3 separate regions of the Homo sapiens genome follow, and all the other regions are linked to region 2. Evidence: promoter capture Hi-C in 16 types of primary human blood cells and fetal thymus (Javierre and others, 2016). All regions are on one chromosome and are shown on one strand. The core of a region is centred on a gene start or on the middle of the fragment in contact, and the rest is flanking DNA. Distances in the headings are between cores, read along the strand shown. Region 1 has its middle 34 kb from the start of GTF2IRD1. Region 2 holds the start of ELN-AS1 (ELN antisense RNA 1). Region 3 overlaps CLIP2 (CAP-Gly domain containing linker protein 2).

What was found. Contacts are between HindIII fragments. The CHiCAGO score rates a contact against its expected background, and 5 or more counts as called.
Region 1: a contact is called between a fragment that was not itself captured here and the fragment with the promoter of ELN-AS1 in region 2, in 2 of 17 cell types (naive B cells and neutrophils). The highest score is 8.3, in naive B cells.
Region 3: a contact is called between a fragment that was not itself captured here and the fragment with the promoter of ELN-AS1 in region 2, in 5 of 17 cell types (neutrophils, total B cells, naive B cells and 2 more). The highest score is 13.7, in neutrophils.

Annotation. Positions count from the first base shown.
Region 1 is chr7:74,417,628-74,421,629 of GRCh38, forward strand. No RefSeq gene overlaps it. Among named protein-coding and RNA genes, the nearest start is that of GTF2IRD1, 34 kb to the right of the region's middle. The HindIII fragment of the contact is 1,814 bases long and covers 494-2,307 here.
Region 2 is chr7:74,060,566-74,064,497 of GRCh38, forward strand. It overlaps ELN-AS1 (ELN antisense RNA 1), which reads right to left and starts at 1,715. Exons shown (of 2, transcript NR_183555.1): 1 at 1,645-1,715. ELN (elastin) reads left to right here. Exons shown (of 33, transcript NM_000501.4): 26 at 536-574; 27 at 2,588-2,659; 28 at 2,745-2,804; 29 at 3,056-3,130. RefSeq lists enhancers at 1,049-1,549, 1,550-2,050, 1,594-1,888 and a silencer at 1,691-1,883. The HindIII fragment of the contact is 2,959 bases long and covers 1,258-3,932 here.
Region 3 is chr7:74,376,969-74,381,092 of GRCh38, forward strand. It overlaps CLIP2 (CAP-Gly domain containing linker protein 2), which reads left to right. Exons shown (of 17, transcript NM_003388.5): 11 at 3,838-3,895. Among named protein-coding and RNA genes, the nearest start is that of GTF2IRD1, 75 kb to the right of the region's middle. RefSeq lists enhancers at 3,332-3,832, 3,833-4,124. The HindIII fragment of the contact is 8,624 bases long and covers 1-4,124 here.

The sequences.
Region 1 (4,002 bases), core at 151-2,650, 360 kb after region 2:
GCTTTAGGGCTGCAAGGCTGGAGACACAGGCCAGCTTTGCACGTGGGAGCAACAACGGGGACCCAGGTGTCCCGGCTCCTAGTCCCAGAGCTCCCTGTCCCTGTTGCCTCCCAGACTTGGTTCAGGCCTCTCTGTGAGTATCCGTGTGTGTCCACACTTCCATCCCTGGGAGAGAGGCCGGCCAGGGCGTGGACATTCATTCCCTCTCTGGGACCGTGCCGGGCCAGGACTGTCCTGGCCTCCCTCCTCCCGCACAGCACTGCCTCCCCTCCCCGCAGGCTGGGCTCCCTCCACAGAGCTGACCCTGGCCTACTTTCTCAGTCCTGAACCCTCCCATCACGTCCCCCTTGCCAACCTCAGCTGGGCAGTCACCCTGGTCCCGCTCCCACTCCCCAAGAGAGGCTGGGAAGTGTTTTGAGACTGAAGTTGGGGTCCAGTGTAAATTCAGAAGGAACATGGTATAGGACGAATAACCAGGATGCTCACTTCTAGAAGCTTCTCTGGAACCTTGGGTAAGGCTGTGGGCCCTTTCTCTGGAGCTACCAGCAAAGGGAAGGACTTGCTGCCTCCAGGGTGGCTCCAGCCCCGTCTAGACCCCCTCCCAGCCACCCTCTCCCGCTGCCACAATTTCCAGCTGGCCCCACGCACAGCTGTGCCTCGGTTTCCCAGCAGCCCCAAGCCTGGAGTTCACCAGGAGCACCTTCACAGCCCCGCACCGGGTCCGCAGCCTGGGGTCCATCATATTCATCACACTCTGGGCCCTGTCCCCCACCCCCAGCTCAGGCCTCAGATCCTGCCTCCAACCCCACACCCCCAGGCCTTTCCAAGTGACCCACACACATGCATGGGCACACACACACAGATACATACACACATACACAGAGACACACATACATGTACACATCATATATATATACACGCACACAGAGACACATATAAACATGCACACACGTACACACATACATGTACACACGTACACACATGCATACACATATACATACACAAACACATACATACACAAACACTATAGACACGTACACAGACACACACAAATACGTACACATACACAAAAACTCATACACATACACAAACACGTACATACACAGACACACAAACACTACAGACACATGTACACACGGACAAATACACATACACACAGACACACATACATGTACACATATACACATGTACACAGGTACACACGCACATACACACGTTACACACAAAGAGATGTATACTCACATACACAAACATGCACATATATACACACAAACAATATACATACACATACACATACACACACGCATATACATGCATATACATCCACACTTGTGCACACATACACACATGCACACACACACACTTTTTCTTCACGGCCTGCAGAGACGCGCCCATCGGGGACTTGATTCACACCTCTCTCCCTAGAGGGGAGTGCTCTGTGTGCACCGCAACATATCTCTAACCTCTTTTTTTAAATTGACAAAAATTGTATCTATTTATGGTGTGCAATATGATGTTTTGAAATATGTATAAAGTGTGGACCAGCTACATCAAGCTAATTAGCATATGCATTACCTCATTTGTCTTTTTGTGGGGAGTGTGCTGAGAACGCTTAAAATCCACTGTCTTGGTACTTTGCAAGTTTAGAACACATTGTTATCAAGGATAGCCACCATGTTGTACTTGGATCTCTTGAACTTAGTCCTCCTAACTGAAATTTTTGTGTGTTTTTTTCCTTGTGTGTGTGTGACAGAGTCTCACTCTGTTGCCCAGGCTGGAGTGCAGTGGTGCAATCAGCTCACTGCAGCCTTCATCTCTGGGCTCAAGCCGTCCTCCTGCCTCAGCCTTCCAAGTAGCTGGGACTACAGGTGTGCACCACCATGCCCAGCTAATTGTTTGTATTTTTAGAGAGATGGGGTTTTGCCATGTTGCCCAGGCTGGTCTCGAACTCTTGGGCTCAAACGATTGGCCTGTCTCAGCCTCCTAGATTGCTGGGATTACAGGCATGAGCCACCACTGCCACCCCCACATCTCTGACTCTCAGCCCAGGGCGTGGCACACAGGTGCCCACGAGTGGCTGTCAGACGGATTGATCAATTCCACCACTGCACAAACTTCCATCTTCAATCTTGCACTCCACCTCAACTGCTCTCCCAGAGCTCCAGACACTGCCAGGTTGCCCCCGCATCCTGACAAACTGTCCTCTTTCTGTACCCTTTCCAAGTCATCTAATTGTCCTCATTTTTGTTTTTTTTTTTTTTTTTTTGTAATTTGAGTTTATTTGACCATCTTGATCCGAAATGTTCAAGCTTTTGGCTATAGTTTTCTTCATTTATTTATTCAATATTTTTTAGTAACTCTATTAATTAATTGATTTCCTTCCTTCCTTCCCTCCCTCCCTCCTTCCCTCCCTCCCTCCTTCCCTCCCTCCCTCCTTCTCTTCTTCCTTCCCTCCTCCCTCCCTGCCTCCTTCCTTTCTGCCCACCCACTTTCTTTCTTTCCTTCTTTCTTTCTTTTTCTTTCTTTCCTTTCTTTCTTTCTTTTTTCTTTCTTTTTCTTTCCTTCCTTCTTTCTTTCTCTTTCTTCTTTCTCTTTCTTTCTCTCTTTCTCTCTCTTTCTTTCTTTCTCTTTCCTCCCTTCCTTTATCTCTTTTTCTTTCTTTCTTTTTCCTTCTTTATTTTGAAGTGGAGTCCCGCTCTGTCACCCAAGCTGGAGTGCAGTGGCGCAATCTCTGTTCACTGCAACCTCTGCTTCCCGTGTTCAAGCGATTCTCCTGCCTCAGCCTCCCAAGTAGCTGGGATTACAGGCATGCGCCACCACGCCCAGCTAATTTTGTATTTTTAGTAGAGTCAGGGTTTCACCATGTTGGTTAGGCTGGTCTCAACTCCTAACCTCAGGTGATCCACCCAGAATTGTTTTCTTTAAAACAACTTTTCTGTACTGGACATGGTGGCTCACACCTGTAATCTGGCACTTTGGGAGGTCGAGGCGGGAGGATTGCTTGAGCTTAGGAGTTCGAGACCAGCCTGGGCAACATGGTGAAACCCCAGGCATGGCGGCACATGTCTGTAATCCCAGCTACTGGGGAGGCTGACGTGGGAGGATCACCTGAGTCCAGGAGGCCGAGGCTGCAGTGAGCCATGATCATGCCACTGCCCTCCAGCCTGGATGACAGAGCGAGACCCTGTCTCAAATAAATAAATAATAAATAAATAAATAAAGCTGTTTTTCTTTCTTTCTTTCTTTCTTTCTTTCTTTCTTTCTTTCTTTCTTTCTTTCTTTCGTTTGTTCTTTCTTTCCTTCCTTCTTTCTTTCTTTTATTTCAGTCCTCTTTACTTGAAAGTTTATCTCTTGTTCAGAAAATAAATATGGGCCAGGTGCGGTGGCTCATGCCTGTAATCCTAGCACTCTGGGAGGCTGAAGCAGGAGGCTCACTTGAGCCCAGGAGCTGGAGATCAGTCTGGGCAACATAGTGAGACACTGTATCTTTTTGGGGATTTTTTGGACAGAGTCTTGCTCTGTCGCCAGGCTGGAGTGCAGTGGCGTGACCTTGGCCCTCGGCTCACTGCAACCTCTGCCTCCTGAGATCAACTGATTCTCCTGCCTCAGCCTCCTGAGTAGCTGGGACTACAGGTGTGCGCCACCACACCCAGCTAATTTTTTTGTATTTTTAGTAGAGACAGGGTTTCACCATGTTGGCCAAGATGGTCTCAATCCCTTGACCTCGTGATCCCCCTGTCTCGGCCTCCCAAAGTGCTGGGATTACAGGCACGAGCCATCACGCCCTGCCTGACCCCCAGTATCTTCTTAAAGAAAAAAGAAGAAAAGAAAAGAAACAAGATATTCTTTCTCCCTAATGCCAGTTCTTCATCTGCGGTCCCCTTCTCTGCACCGTCTCTCTGTCTCCTGGGTGGTCATCTCCATCTTCTCAGACTTACGTCTTTAATGTTTGTATTTTTAATCTTTTAATCCCAGACCTGAGGCATTGATCATCTATCTTCT
Region 2 (3,932 bases), core at 465-2,964:
TCAGCACCTCCCCAGCACCCCCTCATCACCCAGGGGTGCATAGTAAAATCCTTGTTAGGTTCTCCTAAGCATCTGGGGGTAACAGATAGCGGGAGGAGGGCAGACCAGGCCAAGGGACCCCAGGCTGCCCAATTGCAGAGTATCTGCCTCCTCAGTAGAGGGGTGGCAGGGCTCCAGACTGAGAAAAAGCCTGCCCTCCAACCAGGGAAGGAGCAGGTAGATCAGCCTGGCTCCCCTTCAGCAGTGCTCTGTGGCCAGGGGACCACTAGGAACTCCAGTTCTTCACCAGCTGGTGACTGAGCCCCACTCTGTGCCCAGCCTCAGGCAGTCCATGCTAGGCCTGGGGAGAGAAGGAAGGGGCAGACGGAAGGTGGAGGCACTGTTCAGCCCTAAAGCTCTGTGCCTGTACAGCTTCAGGGCTTTGAGGAAGCAATAGAGGCCAAGGAAGTCAGGGAGGGCTCTCTAGAGGAGGCGGCAGAACTCCCAGGCACAGAGCTCGGCTCCTGACCACTCCCCAACTTTTCTTTCTCCCCAGTACCTGGAGCCCTGGCTGCCGCTAAAGCAGCCAAATATGGTGAGTGCACCCCACAACCACTTGTGGCTCCCTTGCCACCACACCATCCCTGACAGCACAGGACTGGGGTGGTCACAATAGAAAAAGGCAGTTTCGGCCGGGCGTGGTGGCTCACACCTGTAATCCCAGCACTTTGGGAGGCCGAGGCAGGCAGATCACCTGAGGTCAGGAGTTCCAGACCAGCCTGAACAATATGGTTAAACCCCATCTCTACTAAAAATTCAAAAATTAGCCAGGCGTGGTGGCGGGCACCTGTAATCCCAGCACTTTGGGAGGCCGAGGTGGGCAGATCAACTGAGGTCGGGGGTTCCAGACCAGCCTGACCAATATGGTGAAACCCCATCTCTACTAAAAACACAAAAATTAGCCAGGTGTGGTGGCGGGCACCTGTAATCCCAGCTACTCGGGAGGCTGAGGCAGGAGAATCGCTTGAACCCAGGAGATGGAGGTTGCAGTGAGCCGAGATCACGCCACTGCACTCCGGCCTGGACGACAGAGCGAGACTGTATCTCAAAAAAAGAAAAGAAAAGAAAAAGAAAAAGGCAGTTTCTAGGACACGTTTATGACAGTTTAAAAACCTGGCCCCTGCCCACTAAATGCTTATGGTGCCTTCAACCCCTGTGACCACCAAAAACACCCTTGAAATCCCAGTTGCCCCCCAGGAGGCAATTCCACCATCCCTAAGCTTGCCCTGACCCTGACAGTTACATGGTCCCTGTGTCCAGGAAGGGACTGGGCCTGCTGTGGGTATGAGGAGTCTGGGCAGTCTCTGCCTCCACCCCAGCTCTCTGGCCCGAGCAAAGGAGCTGGTATTCCTCATCTGGGCACCCCGGGCCCCCGCCCGCCTTCCTGTCCTGCCAGCAGGACCGCTCCCACCACGAGCCAGCCCAGAGGACGTGGCAGTCCCACAGCCTCTGCACTTGGCGCTCTGGCAGCCCTGCCTGGCCAGACCCACGCTGTCTGTAGCCCCTGAATTCCTGGCCTCCTGTGAGCAGCGTTGGTGGGAGGTGGAAGACTCCCCCAGGGATCCACCAACCAGCCGGGCAGGTCCACTTGGGGCCAGTTTCTACCTCGGAAAATCCTGGCTTCCTCAGCGCCGACCCCCAGCAGCCCTGGCCTCCTCCCCTGCTCACTGCTGACTGCTTGGCAGGCCTGAGTCAACAGACATTGCCAGGGAAACAGAGTGACGTCATGTGGTGGAGCCGCGAAGGGCGCAGGCTCCCCAGCCACTTCCCGTCCCTGAAGCCCTGAGCACACTGCTTAACCTCTGCTCTGCCTCAGCGTTCTCATCTGCAAAATGGGAATGACAATAGTGCCTACCTTTCCTGCTGCAATGCATAAAAAATGGGCTGCTAAGTGTGAAGCACTCAAAATGTTAAGTGCCTGCTGTAGATACTATTACCGTTGTTTGTTTGTTTGTTTGTTTGTTTTGACAGAGTCTTGCTCTGTCGCCCAGGCTGGAATGCAGTGGTACGATCTTGGCTCCCTGCAGCCTCCATCTCCCGGGTTCAAGTGATTCTCCTGCCTCAGCCTTCCAAGTAGCTGGGATTACAGGCGCCCGCCACCACGCCTGGCTAATTTTTGTATTTTTCGTAGAAACAGGGTTTCACCGTGTTGGCCAGGCTGGTCTCAAACTCCTGACCTCAGGTGATCCACTAGCCTCAGCCTCCCAAAGTGCTGGGATTACAGGTGTGAGCCACCGCACCCGGCTTACAAAAGAACTTTTAAGGCCAGGCACAGTGGTTCACACCTTCGGGAGGCTAAGGCAGGAGGATCGCATGAGCCCAGGAGTTGGAGGCTGCAGTGAACTATGATTGTACCACTGCACTCCAGCCGGGGTGACAGAGCAAAACCCCATCTCAAAATGAAACAAAATATGGACTGGACTTCCTGTCCACTGCTCCTCCACAGTGTCACATGGCCCCTGCCACCTGTCTGCTTGCCTTGTGTCCCTGGGGCAGGGAGACCCATCGTTCAGAAATGGAACACTCATTTTCCCTCCTCTCCCCGCAGGAGCAGCAGTGCCTGGGGTCCTTGGAGGGCTCGGGGCTCTCGGTGGAGTAGGCATCCCAGGCGGTGTGGTGGGTGAGTTGAAACCCCAGGAGGGGCAGGGTGGGGAGGGAATCTAACCAGTACAGAGTGCCTCCCTGAACTCGGTCTGTGTTCCCAGGAGCCGGACCCGCCGCCGCCGCTGCCGCAGCCAAAGCTGCTGCCAAAGCCGCCCAGTTTGGTGAGCACTGGGTGGAGGTGGGAGCTGCCGCCAGGCCCCCAGGCCCCCAGGGTGTGGGAGGAGCTTCTGACCAGGCACTGTAGACTCAGAGTCCCTGCCCCAGACACCTCCTGGCTCCACTGTGCCATCGAAGGCCAGGGGAGACCTCAGGCTCCACCTGTGTCCCCAGAGGACACCTCCGCCCTCCACAGGCCGAGGCTTCAGTCCCACCTTTCTGACCAGCGGAGTCTAATGCTCAGCTGTCTCCACAGGCCTAGTGGGAGCCGCTGGGCTCGGAGGACTCGGAGTCGGAGGGCTTGGAGTTCCAGGTGTTGGGGGCCTTGGAGGTGAGAGTTGTTCTGAAATCAGTGAGTGTGTGTGGTGTGTGTATGCGAGACAGAGATGGAGACAGAGACAGAGACAGAGACTTTCGTTCCCACCCCTGGCACGTCTTTGCTCAAGATGTCCTCTTGGCCAGGTGCGGTGGCTCACGCCTGCAATCCCAGCACTCTAGTAGGCCAAGGTGGGCGGATCACTAGAGGTGAGGAGTTTGAGACCAGCCTGGGTGACATGGCGAAACCTCATCTCTACCAAAAATACAAAAATAAGCCGGGCGTGGTGGTGGGCACCTGTATTTCCAGCTACTTGAGAGGCTGAGGCCAGAGGATCGCTTGAGCCCAGGAGGCAGAGGCTGCAGTGAGCTGAGATGGTACCACTGCATTCCAGCTTGGGCAGCAGAGTGAGACCCTGTCATCTAAAAAAAAAAAAGAAAGAAAGAAAAGAAAAGAGGCCAGGCATGGTGGCTCACGCCTGTGATCCCAGCACTTTGGGAGGCTGAGGTGGGCAGATCACGAGGTCAGATCAAGACCATCCTGGCTAACACAGTGAAACCCCGTCTCTACTAAAAATACAAAAAATTAGCTGGGCGTGGTGGCAGACGCCTGTAGTCCCAGCTACTCAGGAGGCTGAGGCAGAAGAATGGCGTGAACCTGGGAGGCGGAGCTTGCAGTGAGCCGAGATCGCGCCACTGCACTCCAGCCTGGGCGACAGAGCGAGACTCCGTCTCAAAAAAAAAATATATATATATATATATATATGTATGTATGTATGTATATAAATTAGCTGGGCATGGTGACACACGCCTGTAAT
Region 3 (4,124 bases), core at 908-3,407, 320 kb after region 2:
AGAGGAGGAGGAGCTCCTTGGCCCTCTGTTAGAGGGGCAGTGCGCCCTGGTGACCAGGGAGAACCGAAGCTGGTCTGAGCTGACCTGGCTGCATCCCCCCGCACAGAGCAGACCTGGAGAGATGGGACCTCCGTGCAGAGGACGGGCTTTGATTTACCCATACATGTCTTAGGGTGCAGGGCTCCTAGGACCCGGGACCTCAGACCCTGTGCCCTGGGGCTGGCACAGACCTGAAGGCAAGCTCTGCCTATCCCCCTGGGGGCACCCATCTCCAACTTAGAAGCTCACCTGGGGAATCAGCGGCAGCCCCCTTTCTGCCAGTCCTAATGAGACTTTAGCAACGGTGCCAACGAGTACTTCCCCAGAATGTGGGAGTTCCCGGAGTGGGGTCTGGAAGGCTAGAGGGGGTGGCCCTAAAGAGGTCGCTGTCACCAATGTCAATTTTGCTCCAAATCTAGAAATTCCTTAAGCATCTACCCCTTCTTCCTTCAGCTGAACCCATCCTCCCAGCCCCTCTGAGGAGGTCAACACCCAGGTGGGCTGTGCCCACTCCACCAGGGCCAGGAAGGGCCTTTTGAGTGGCTCTGGGTACCACGTCTTATGCCAGGCCCTATGTGACTCCATTTCACCTTAACATCCTTAGATTGATACTGGCTCCATTTCACAGGTGAGCAAACCAAGACTTTCCCAGGTCCACAGCCTCTCAGTGGCAGAGATGTTCAACCCCATTCCCTGTGGGGCTGACAGAGAGTGCCCAAGACAACAGGAATTAATTCATAGGAGGGATGGCTAGCAACGGACTCTTGCCTGTATACAAATTGTACTCAGAGATTCTTGAGTTTCCAGTTCCCCCACATACATTTTTTTTTTTTTTGAGATGGAGTTTTGCTCTTGTTGCCCAGGCTGGAGTGCAGTGGTGGGATCTCGGCTCACTGCAACCTCCGCCTCCCAGGTTCAAGCAATTCTCCTGTATCAGCCTCCCAAGTAGCTGCAATTACAGGCATGCACCACCACGCCCAGCTAATTCTTATATTTTTAGTAGAGGTGGGGTTTCGCCAGGTAGTCCAGGCTGGTCTCAAACTCCTGACTTCAGGTGATCTGCCCGCCTCGGCCTCCCAAAGTGCTGGGATTACAGGCGTGAGGCACCATCCCTGGCCTTTTTTTTGGTTTTGTTTTTGAGACAGGGTCTTGTTCTGTCTCCCAGGCTGGAGTGCAGTGGCATGATCATGGCTCACTACAGTCTCAACCTCCCAGGCTTGAGCGAGCCTCCCACTTCAGCCTTCCAAGTCGCCAGGACCACAGGTGTGCCCCACCACACCTGGCTAATTTTTATAGTTTTTGTAGAGATGGGGTTTCCTCATGTTGCCCAGGCTGGTCTCAAACTCCTGGGCTCAAGCTGTCTGCCCGCCTTTGCCTCCCAAAGTGCTGGGATTACAGGGAGTAGGTACTGCACCTGACCACCCTCATGTATATTCAAACCAGAATTTAGGGGTGGGTGTGGTGGCTCACACCTATAATTCCAGCATTTCGAGAGGCTGAGGCAGGAGGATTGCTTCAGGCCAGGAGTTTGAGACCAGCCTGGACAACATAGTTAGACCCCATCTCTACAAAAATAAAAAATTAGCCGAGTACAGTGGTAGTGTACCTGTAGTCCCCAGCTACGCTGGAGGCTGAGGCAAGAGGATCACTTGAGCCCAGGTGTTTGAGGCTGCAGTGAGCTATGATTGCACCACTGCACTCCAGCCTGAGTGACAGTGTGAGGCTGTGACTCAAGAAAATACACAAACCAAAAAAACCCGAGAATTTAGCATGTGGGCAGTAAGTTCTCAGGACTAATGAATCCAGGGGGCTTTTTTTGTCTAAAAGGAAATCTTTTTGCATCATGCCTTGAGGTCCCTTGTAATGGCCTTCCTGCCCCTTCTCCCAGGAAGGGATTTTGTTTTTTAGCAAGTGCTCTTCCAGGATCCTGGGCTGAAAGAAAAGGAAGAAACCCAAATTAGCTTACGTGCACATGGCCTGATTAGCTGTTCAGGGCAGGCAGAAACAGCCTGCAACTCAGGAACTGAATTCCCTGAGCGGGGAGGTTTGAGGTTGCTGTGGTTCCACAGAGCATGGGGGACAGAGGCCTGAGGATGCCTCCCCCAGTCCCTGCCCCTCATTCACAGGTGCCCTTGGACCAAGAAGTAGTAGTGGCCCCAGAAAGCCCATCTCCTGGCCGGGCGCGGTGGCTCACACCTGTAATCCCAGCTACTCAGGAGGCTGAGGCACAAGGATTACTTGAACCCGGGACGTGGAGGTTGCAGTGAGCCAAGATCGTGCCACTGCACTCCGGCCTGGGCAACAGAGGGAGACTCCGTCTGGAAAAAAAAAAAAAAGCCCATCTCTTGATTTTCTGTATACACTGGGGCTTAGTCTAAACGCATATGTCCCCATGTTCAGAGGTTTAGGCCTAAGCACAACTGGACTTTTGGTCTCAGGTAGTAAATATGGGAATTTTAAAAATTATTTTAGTGGCCAGGTGCTGTGGCTCACACCTGTAATCCCAGCACTTTGGGATGCCAAGGCAGGTGGATCACCTGAGGTCAGGAGTTTGAGACCAGCCTGGCCAACATGGTGAAAACCCGTCTCTACTAAAAATACAAAAAATTAGCCGGGCATGGTGGCGGGCGCCTGTAGTCCCAGCTACTCGGGAGGCTGAGGCAGGAGAATCGCTTCAGAGTCCTGGAGGCAGAGGTTGCAGTGAGCCGAGATCACGCCACTGCACTCCAGCCTGGGCGACGGAGTGAGACTCCATCTCAAAAAATAATAATAAAAAAACCCCAAAATTAGCTGGGCGTGGTGGTGGGCACCTGTAATCCCAGCTACTCGCTCGGGAGGCCGAGGCAGGAGAATCGCTTGAACCCGGGAGGTGGAGGTTGCAGTGAGCTGAGATTGAGCCATTGCACTCTAGCCTGGATATCAGGGCGAGACTCCTTCTCAAAAAAAAAGAAAAAGAAAAATTTAGTGTGAGCCTCATTACTGCATCGTATATAAATTATGATCCAAGGGGCTTAGTTCATTACAACTAATTGAGACTCAAATGGGACTTGGGATGTATGAACAGAAGTATGAGGGGCAGGATGATAGAGGTGACTGCCTACTCAGCTCTGTGCTTCCCTGATCTGCAGTGCCAGACTCTGGCTGGCTCGGAGGACAGCCAGCCTGGGCAGGAGACTGGAAACTCCTGCCAAGAGTGGCAGGGAGCCTATTGGTTGTGTTTTGACTTTTGTCATAGTGATGTGTGCCAGGCTGATTTTTTTTTTTAATAGGTCTTTTCTTCTTTGGCCTCTGGGTTTATTATTAAAAAGAAATGTTGGAGAGAAAGAAGCTAGCATTTAATGAAGTCCCTCCAGGAGGTGGCCCCAAGCACGCTGTGCACACACTAACCCAAAGCAGCCAATATTTGTTTGATGGATGGGAAACTGAGGCCAGAAGTCTTGTCTCTGGGAGACAGAGAAACAAATTCCCAGGACAAATTTCTGTAGGCATTGCAGGGAAGGAGCCATCTGTTTAATATAATAAACATTTTCAACAAAGGAAGGGTAGGAGGTATTCATGTATAAGCTGCACAGGCGGCCTTCAGCAGAGCTGGGTGCAGAATGGGGGTCCTCTGTTGTCAGGGAGGTCCGACTGAGGACGTCTGCACTCCCTGCCACCGCAGCAAGTCCCTGAGTCCGTCACTGAGGTCCCCCTTTGTAGGAGTAGGGTGTGCAAACTGCAGGTGTGCTTGCTGGGCTGGCTGGGGCTGGGGCCAAGGGGCAGAGGTGAGCATCCCCCTTACAGGGGCTCTTTTTGCAGATGATTGAGTCGAATGACATTTCAGAGGAGACGATCAGGACGAAGGAAACTGTGGAGGGTGAGTGGCCACCAGGCCGGGCGGGACTCTGGGCTCTGGGAAGAGGCTGGCTGGCTCTGCCTTCCTGCTGGGTCACATTTTGGTTTGCATCATCTGCCATTTGGTAAGAGTCACCTCCTGTGTGCTGTGAGCTATGTACTCCTGCAAGGGAGGAGGCCAGTTTACGGAGGGATAGGCATTGCACCAGCCTTCCAAGTTGCTGTCTTTTTTTTCTTTTTCTTTTGAAACA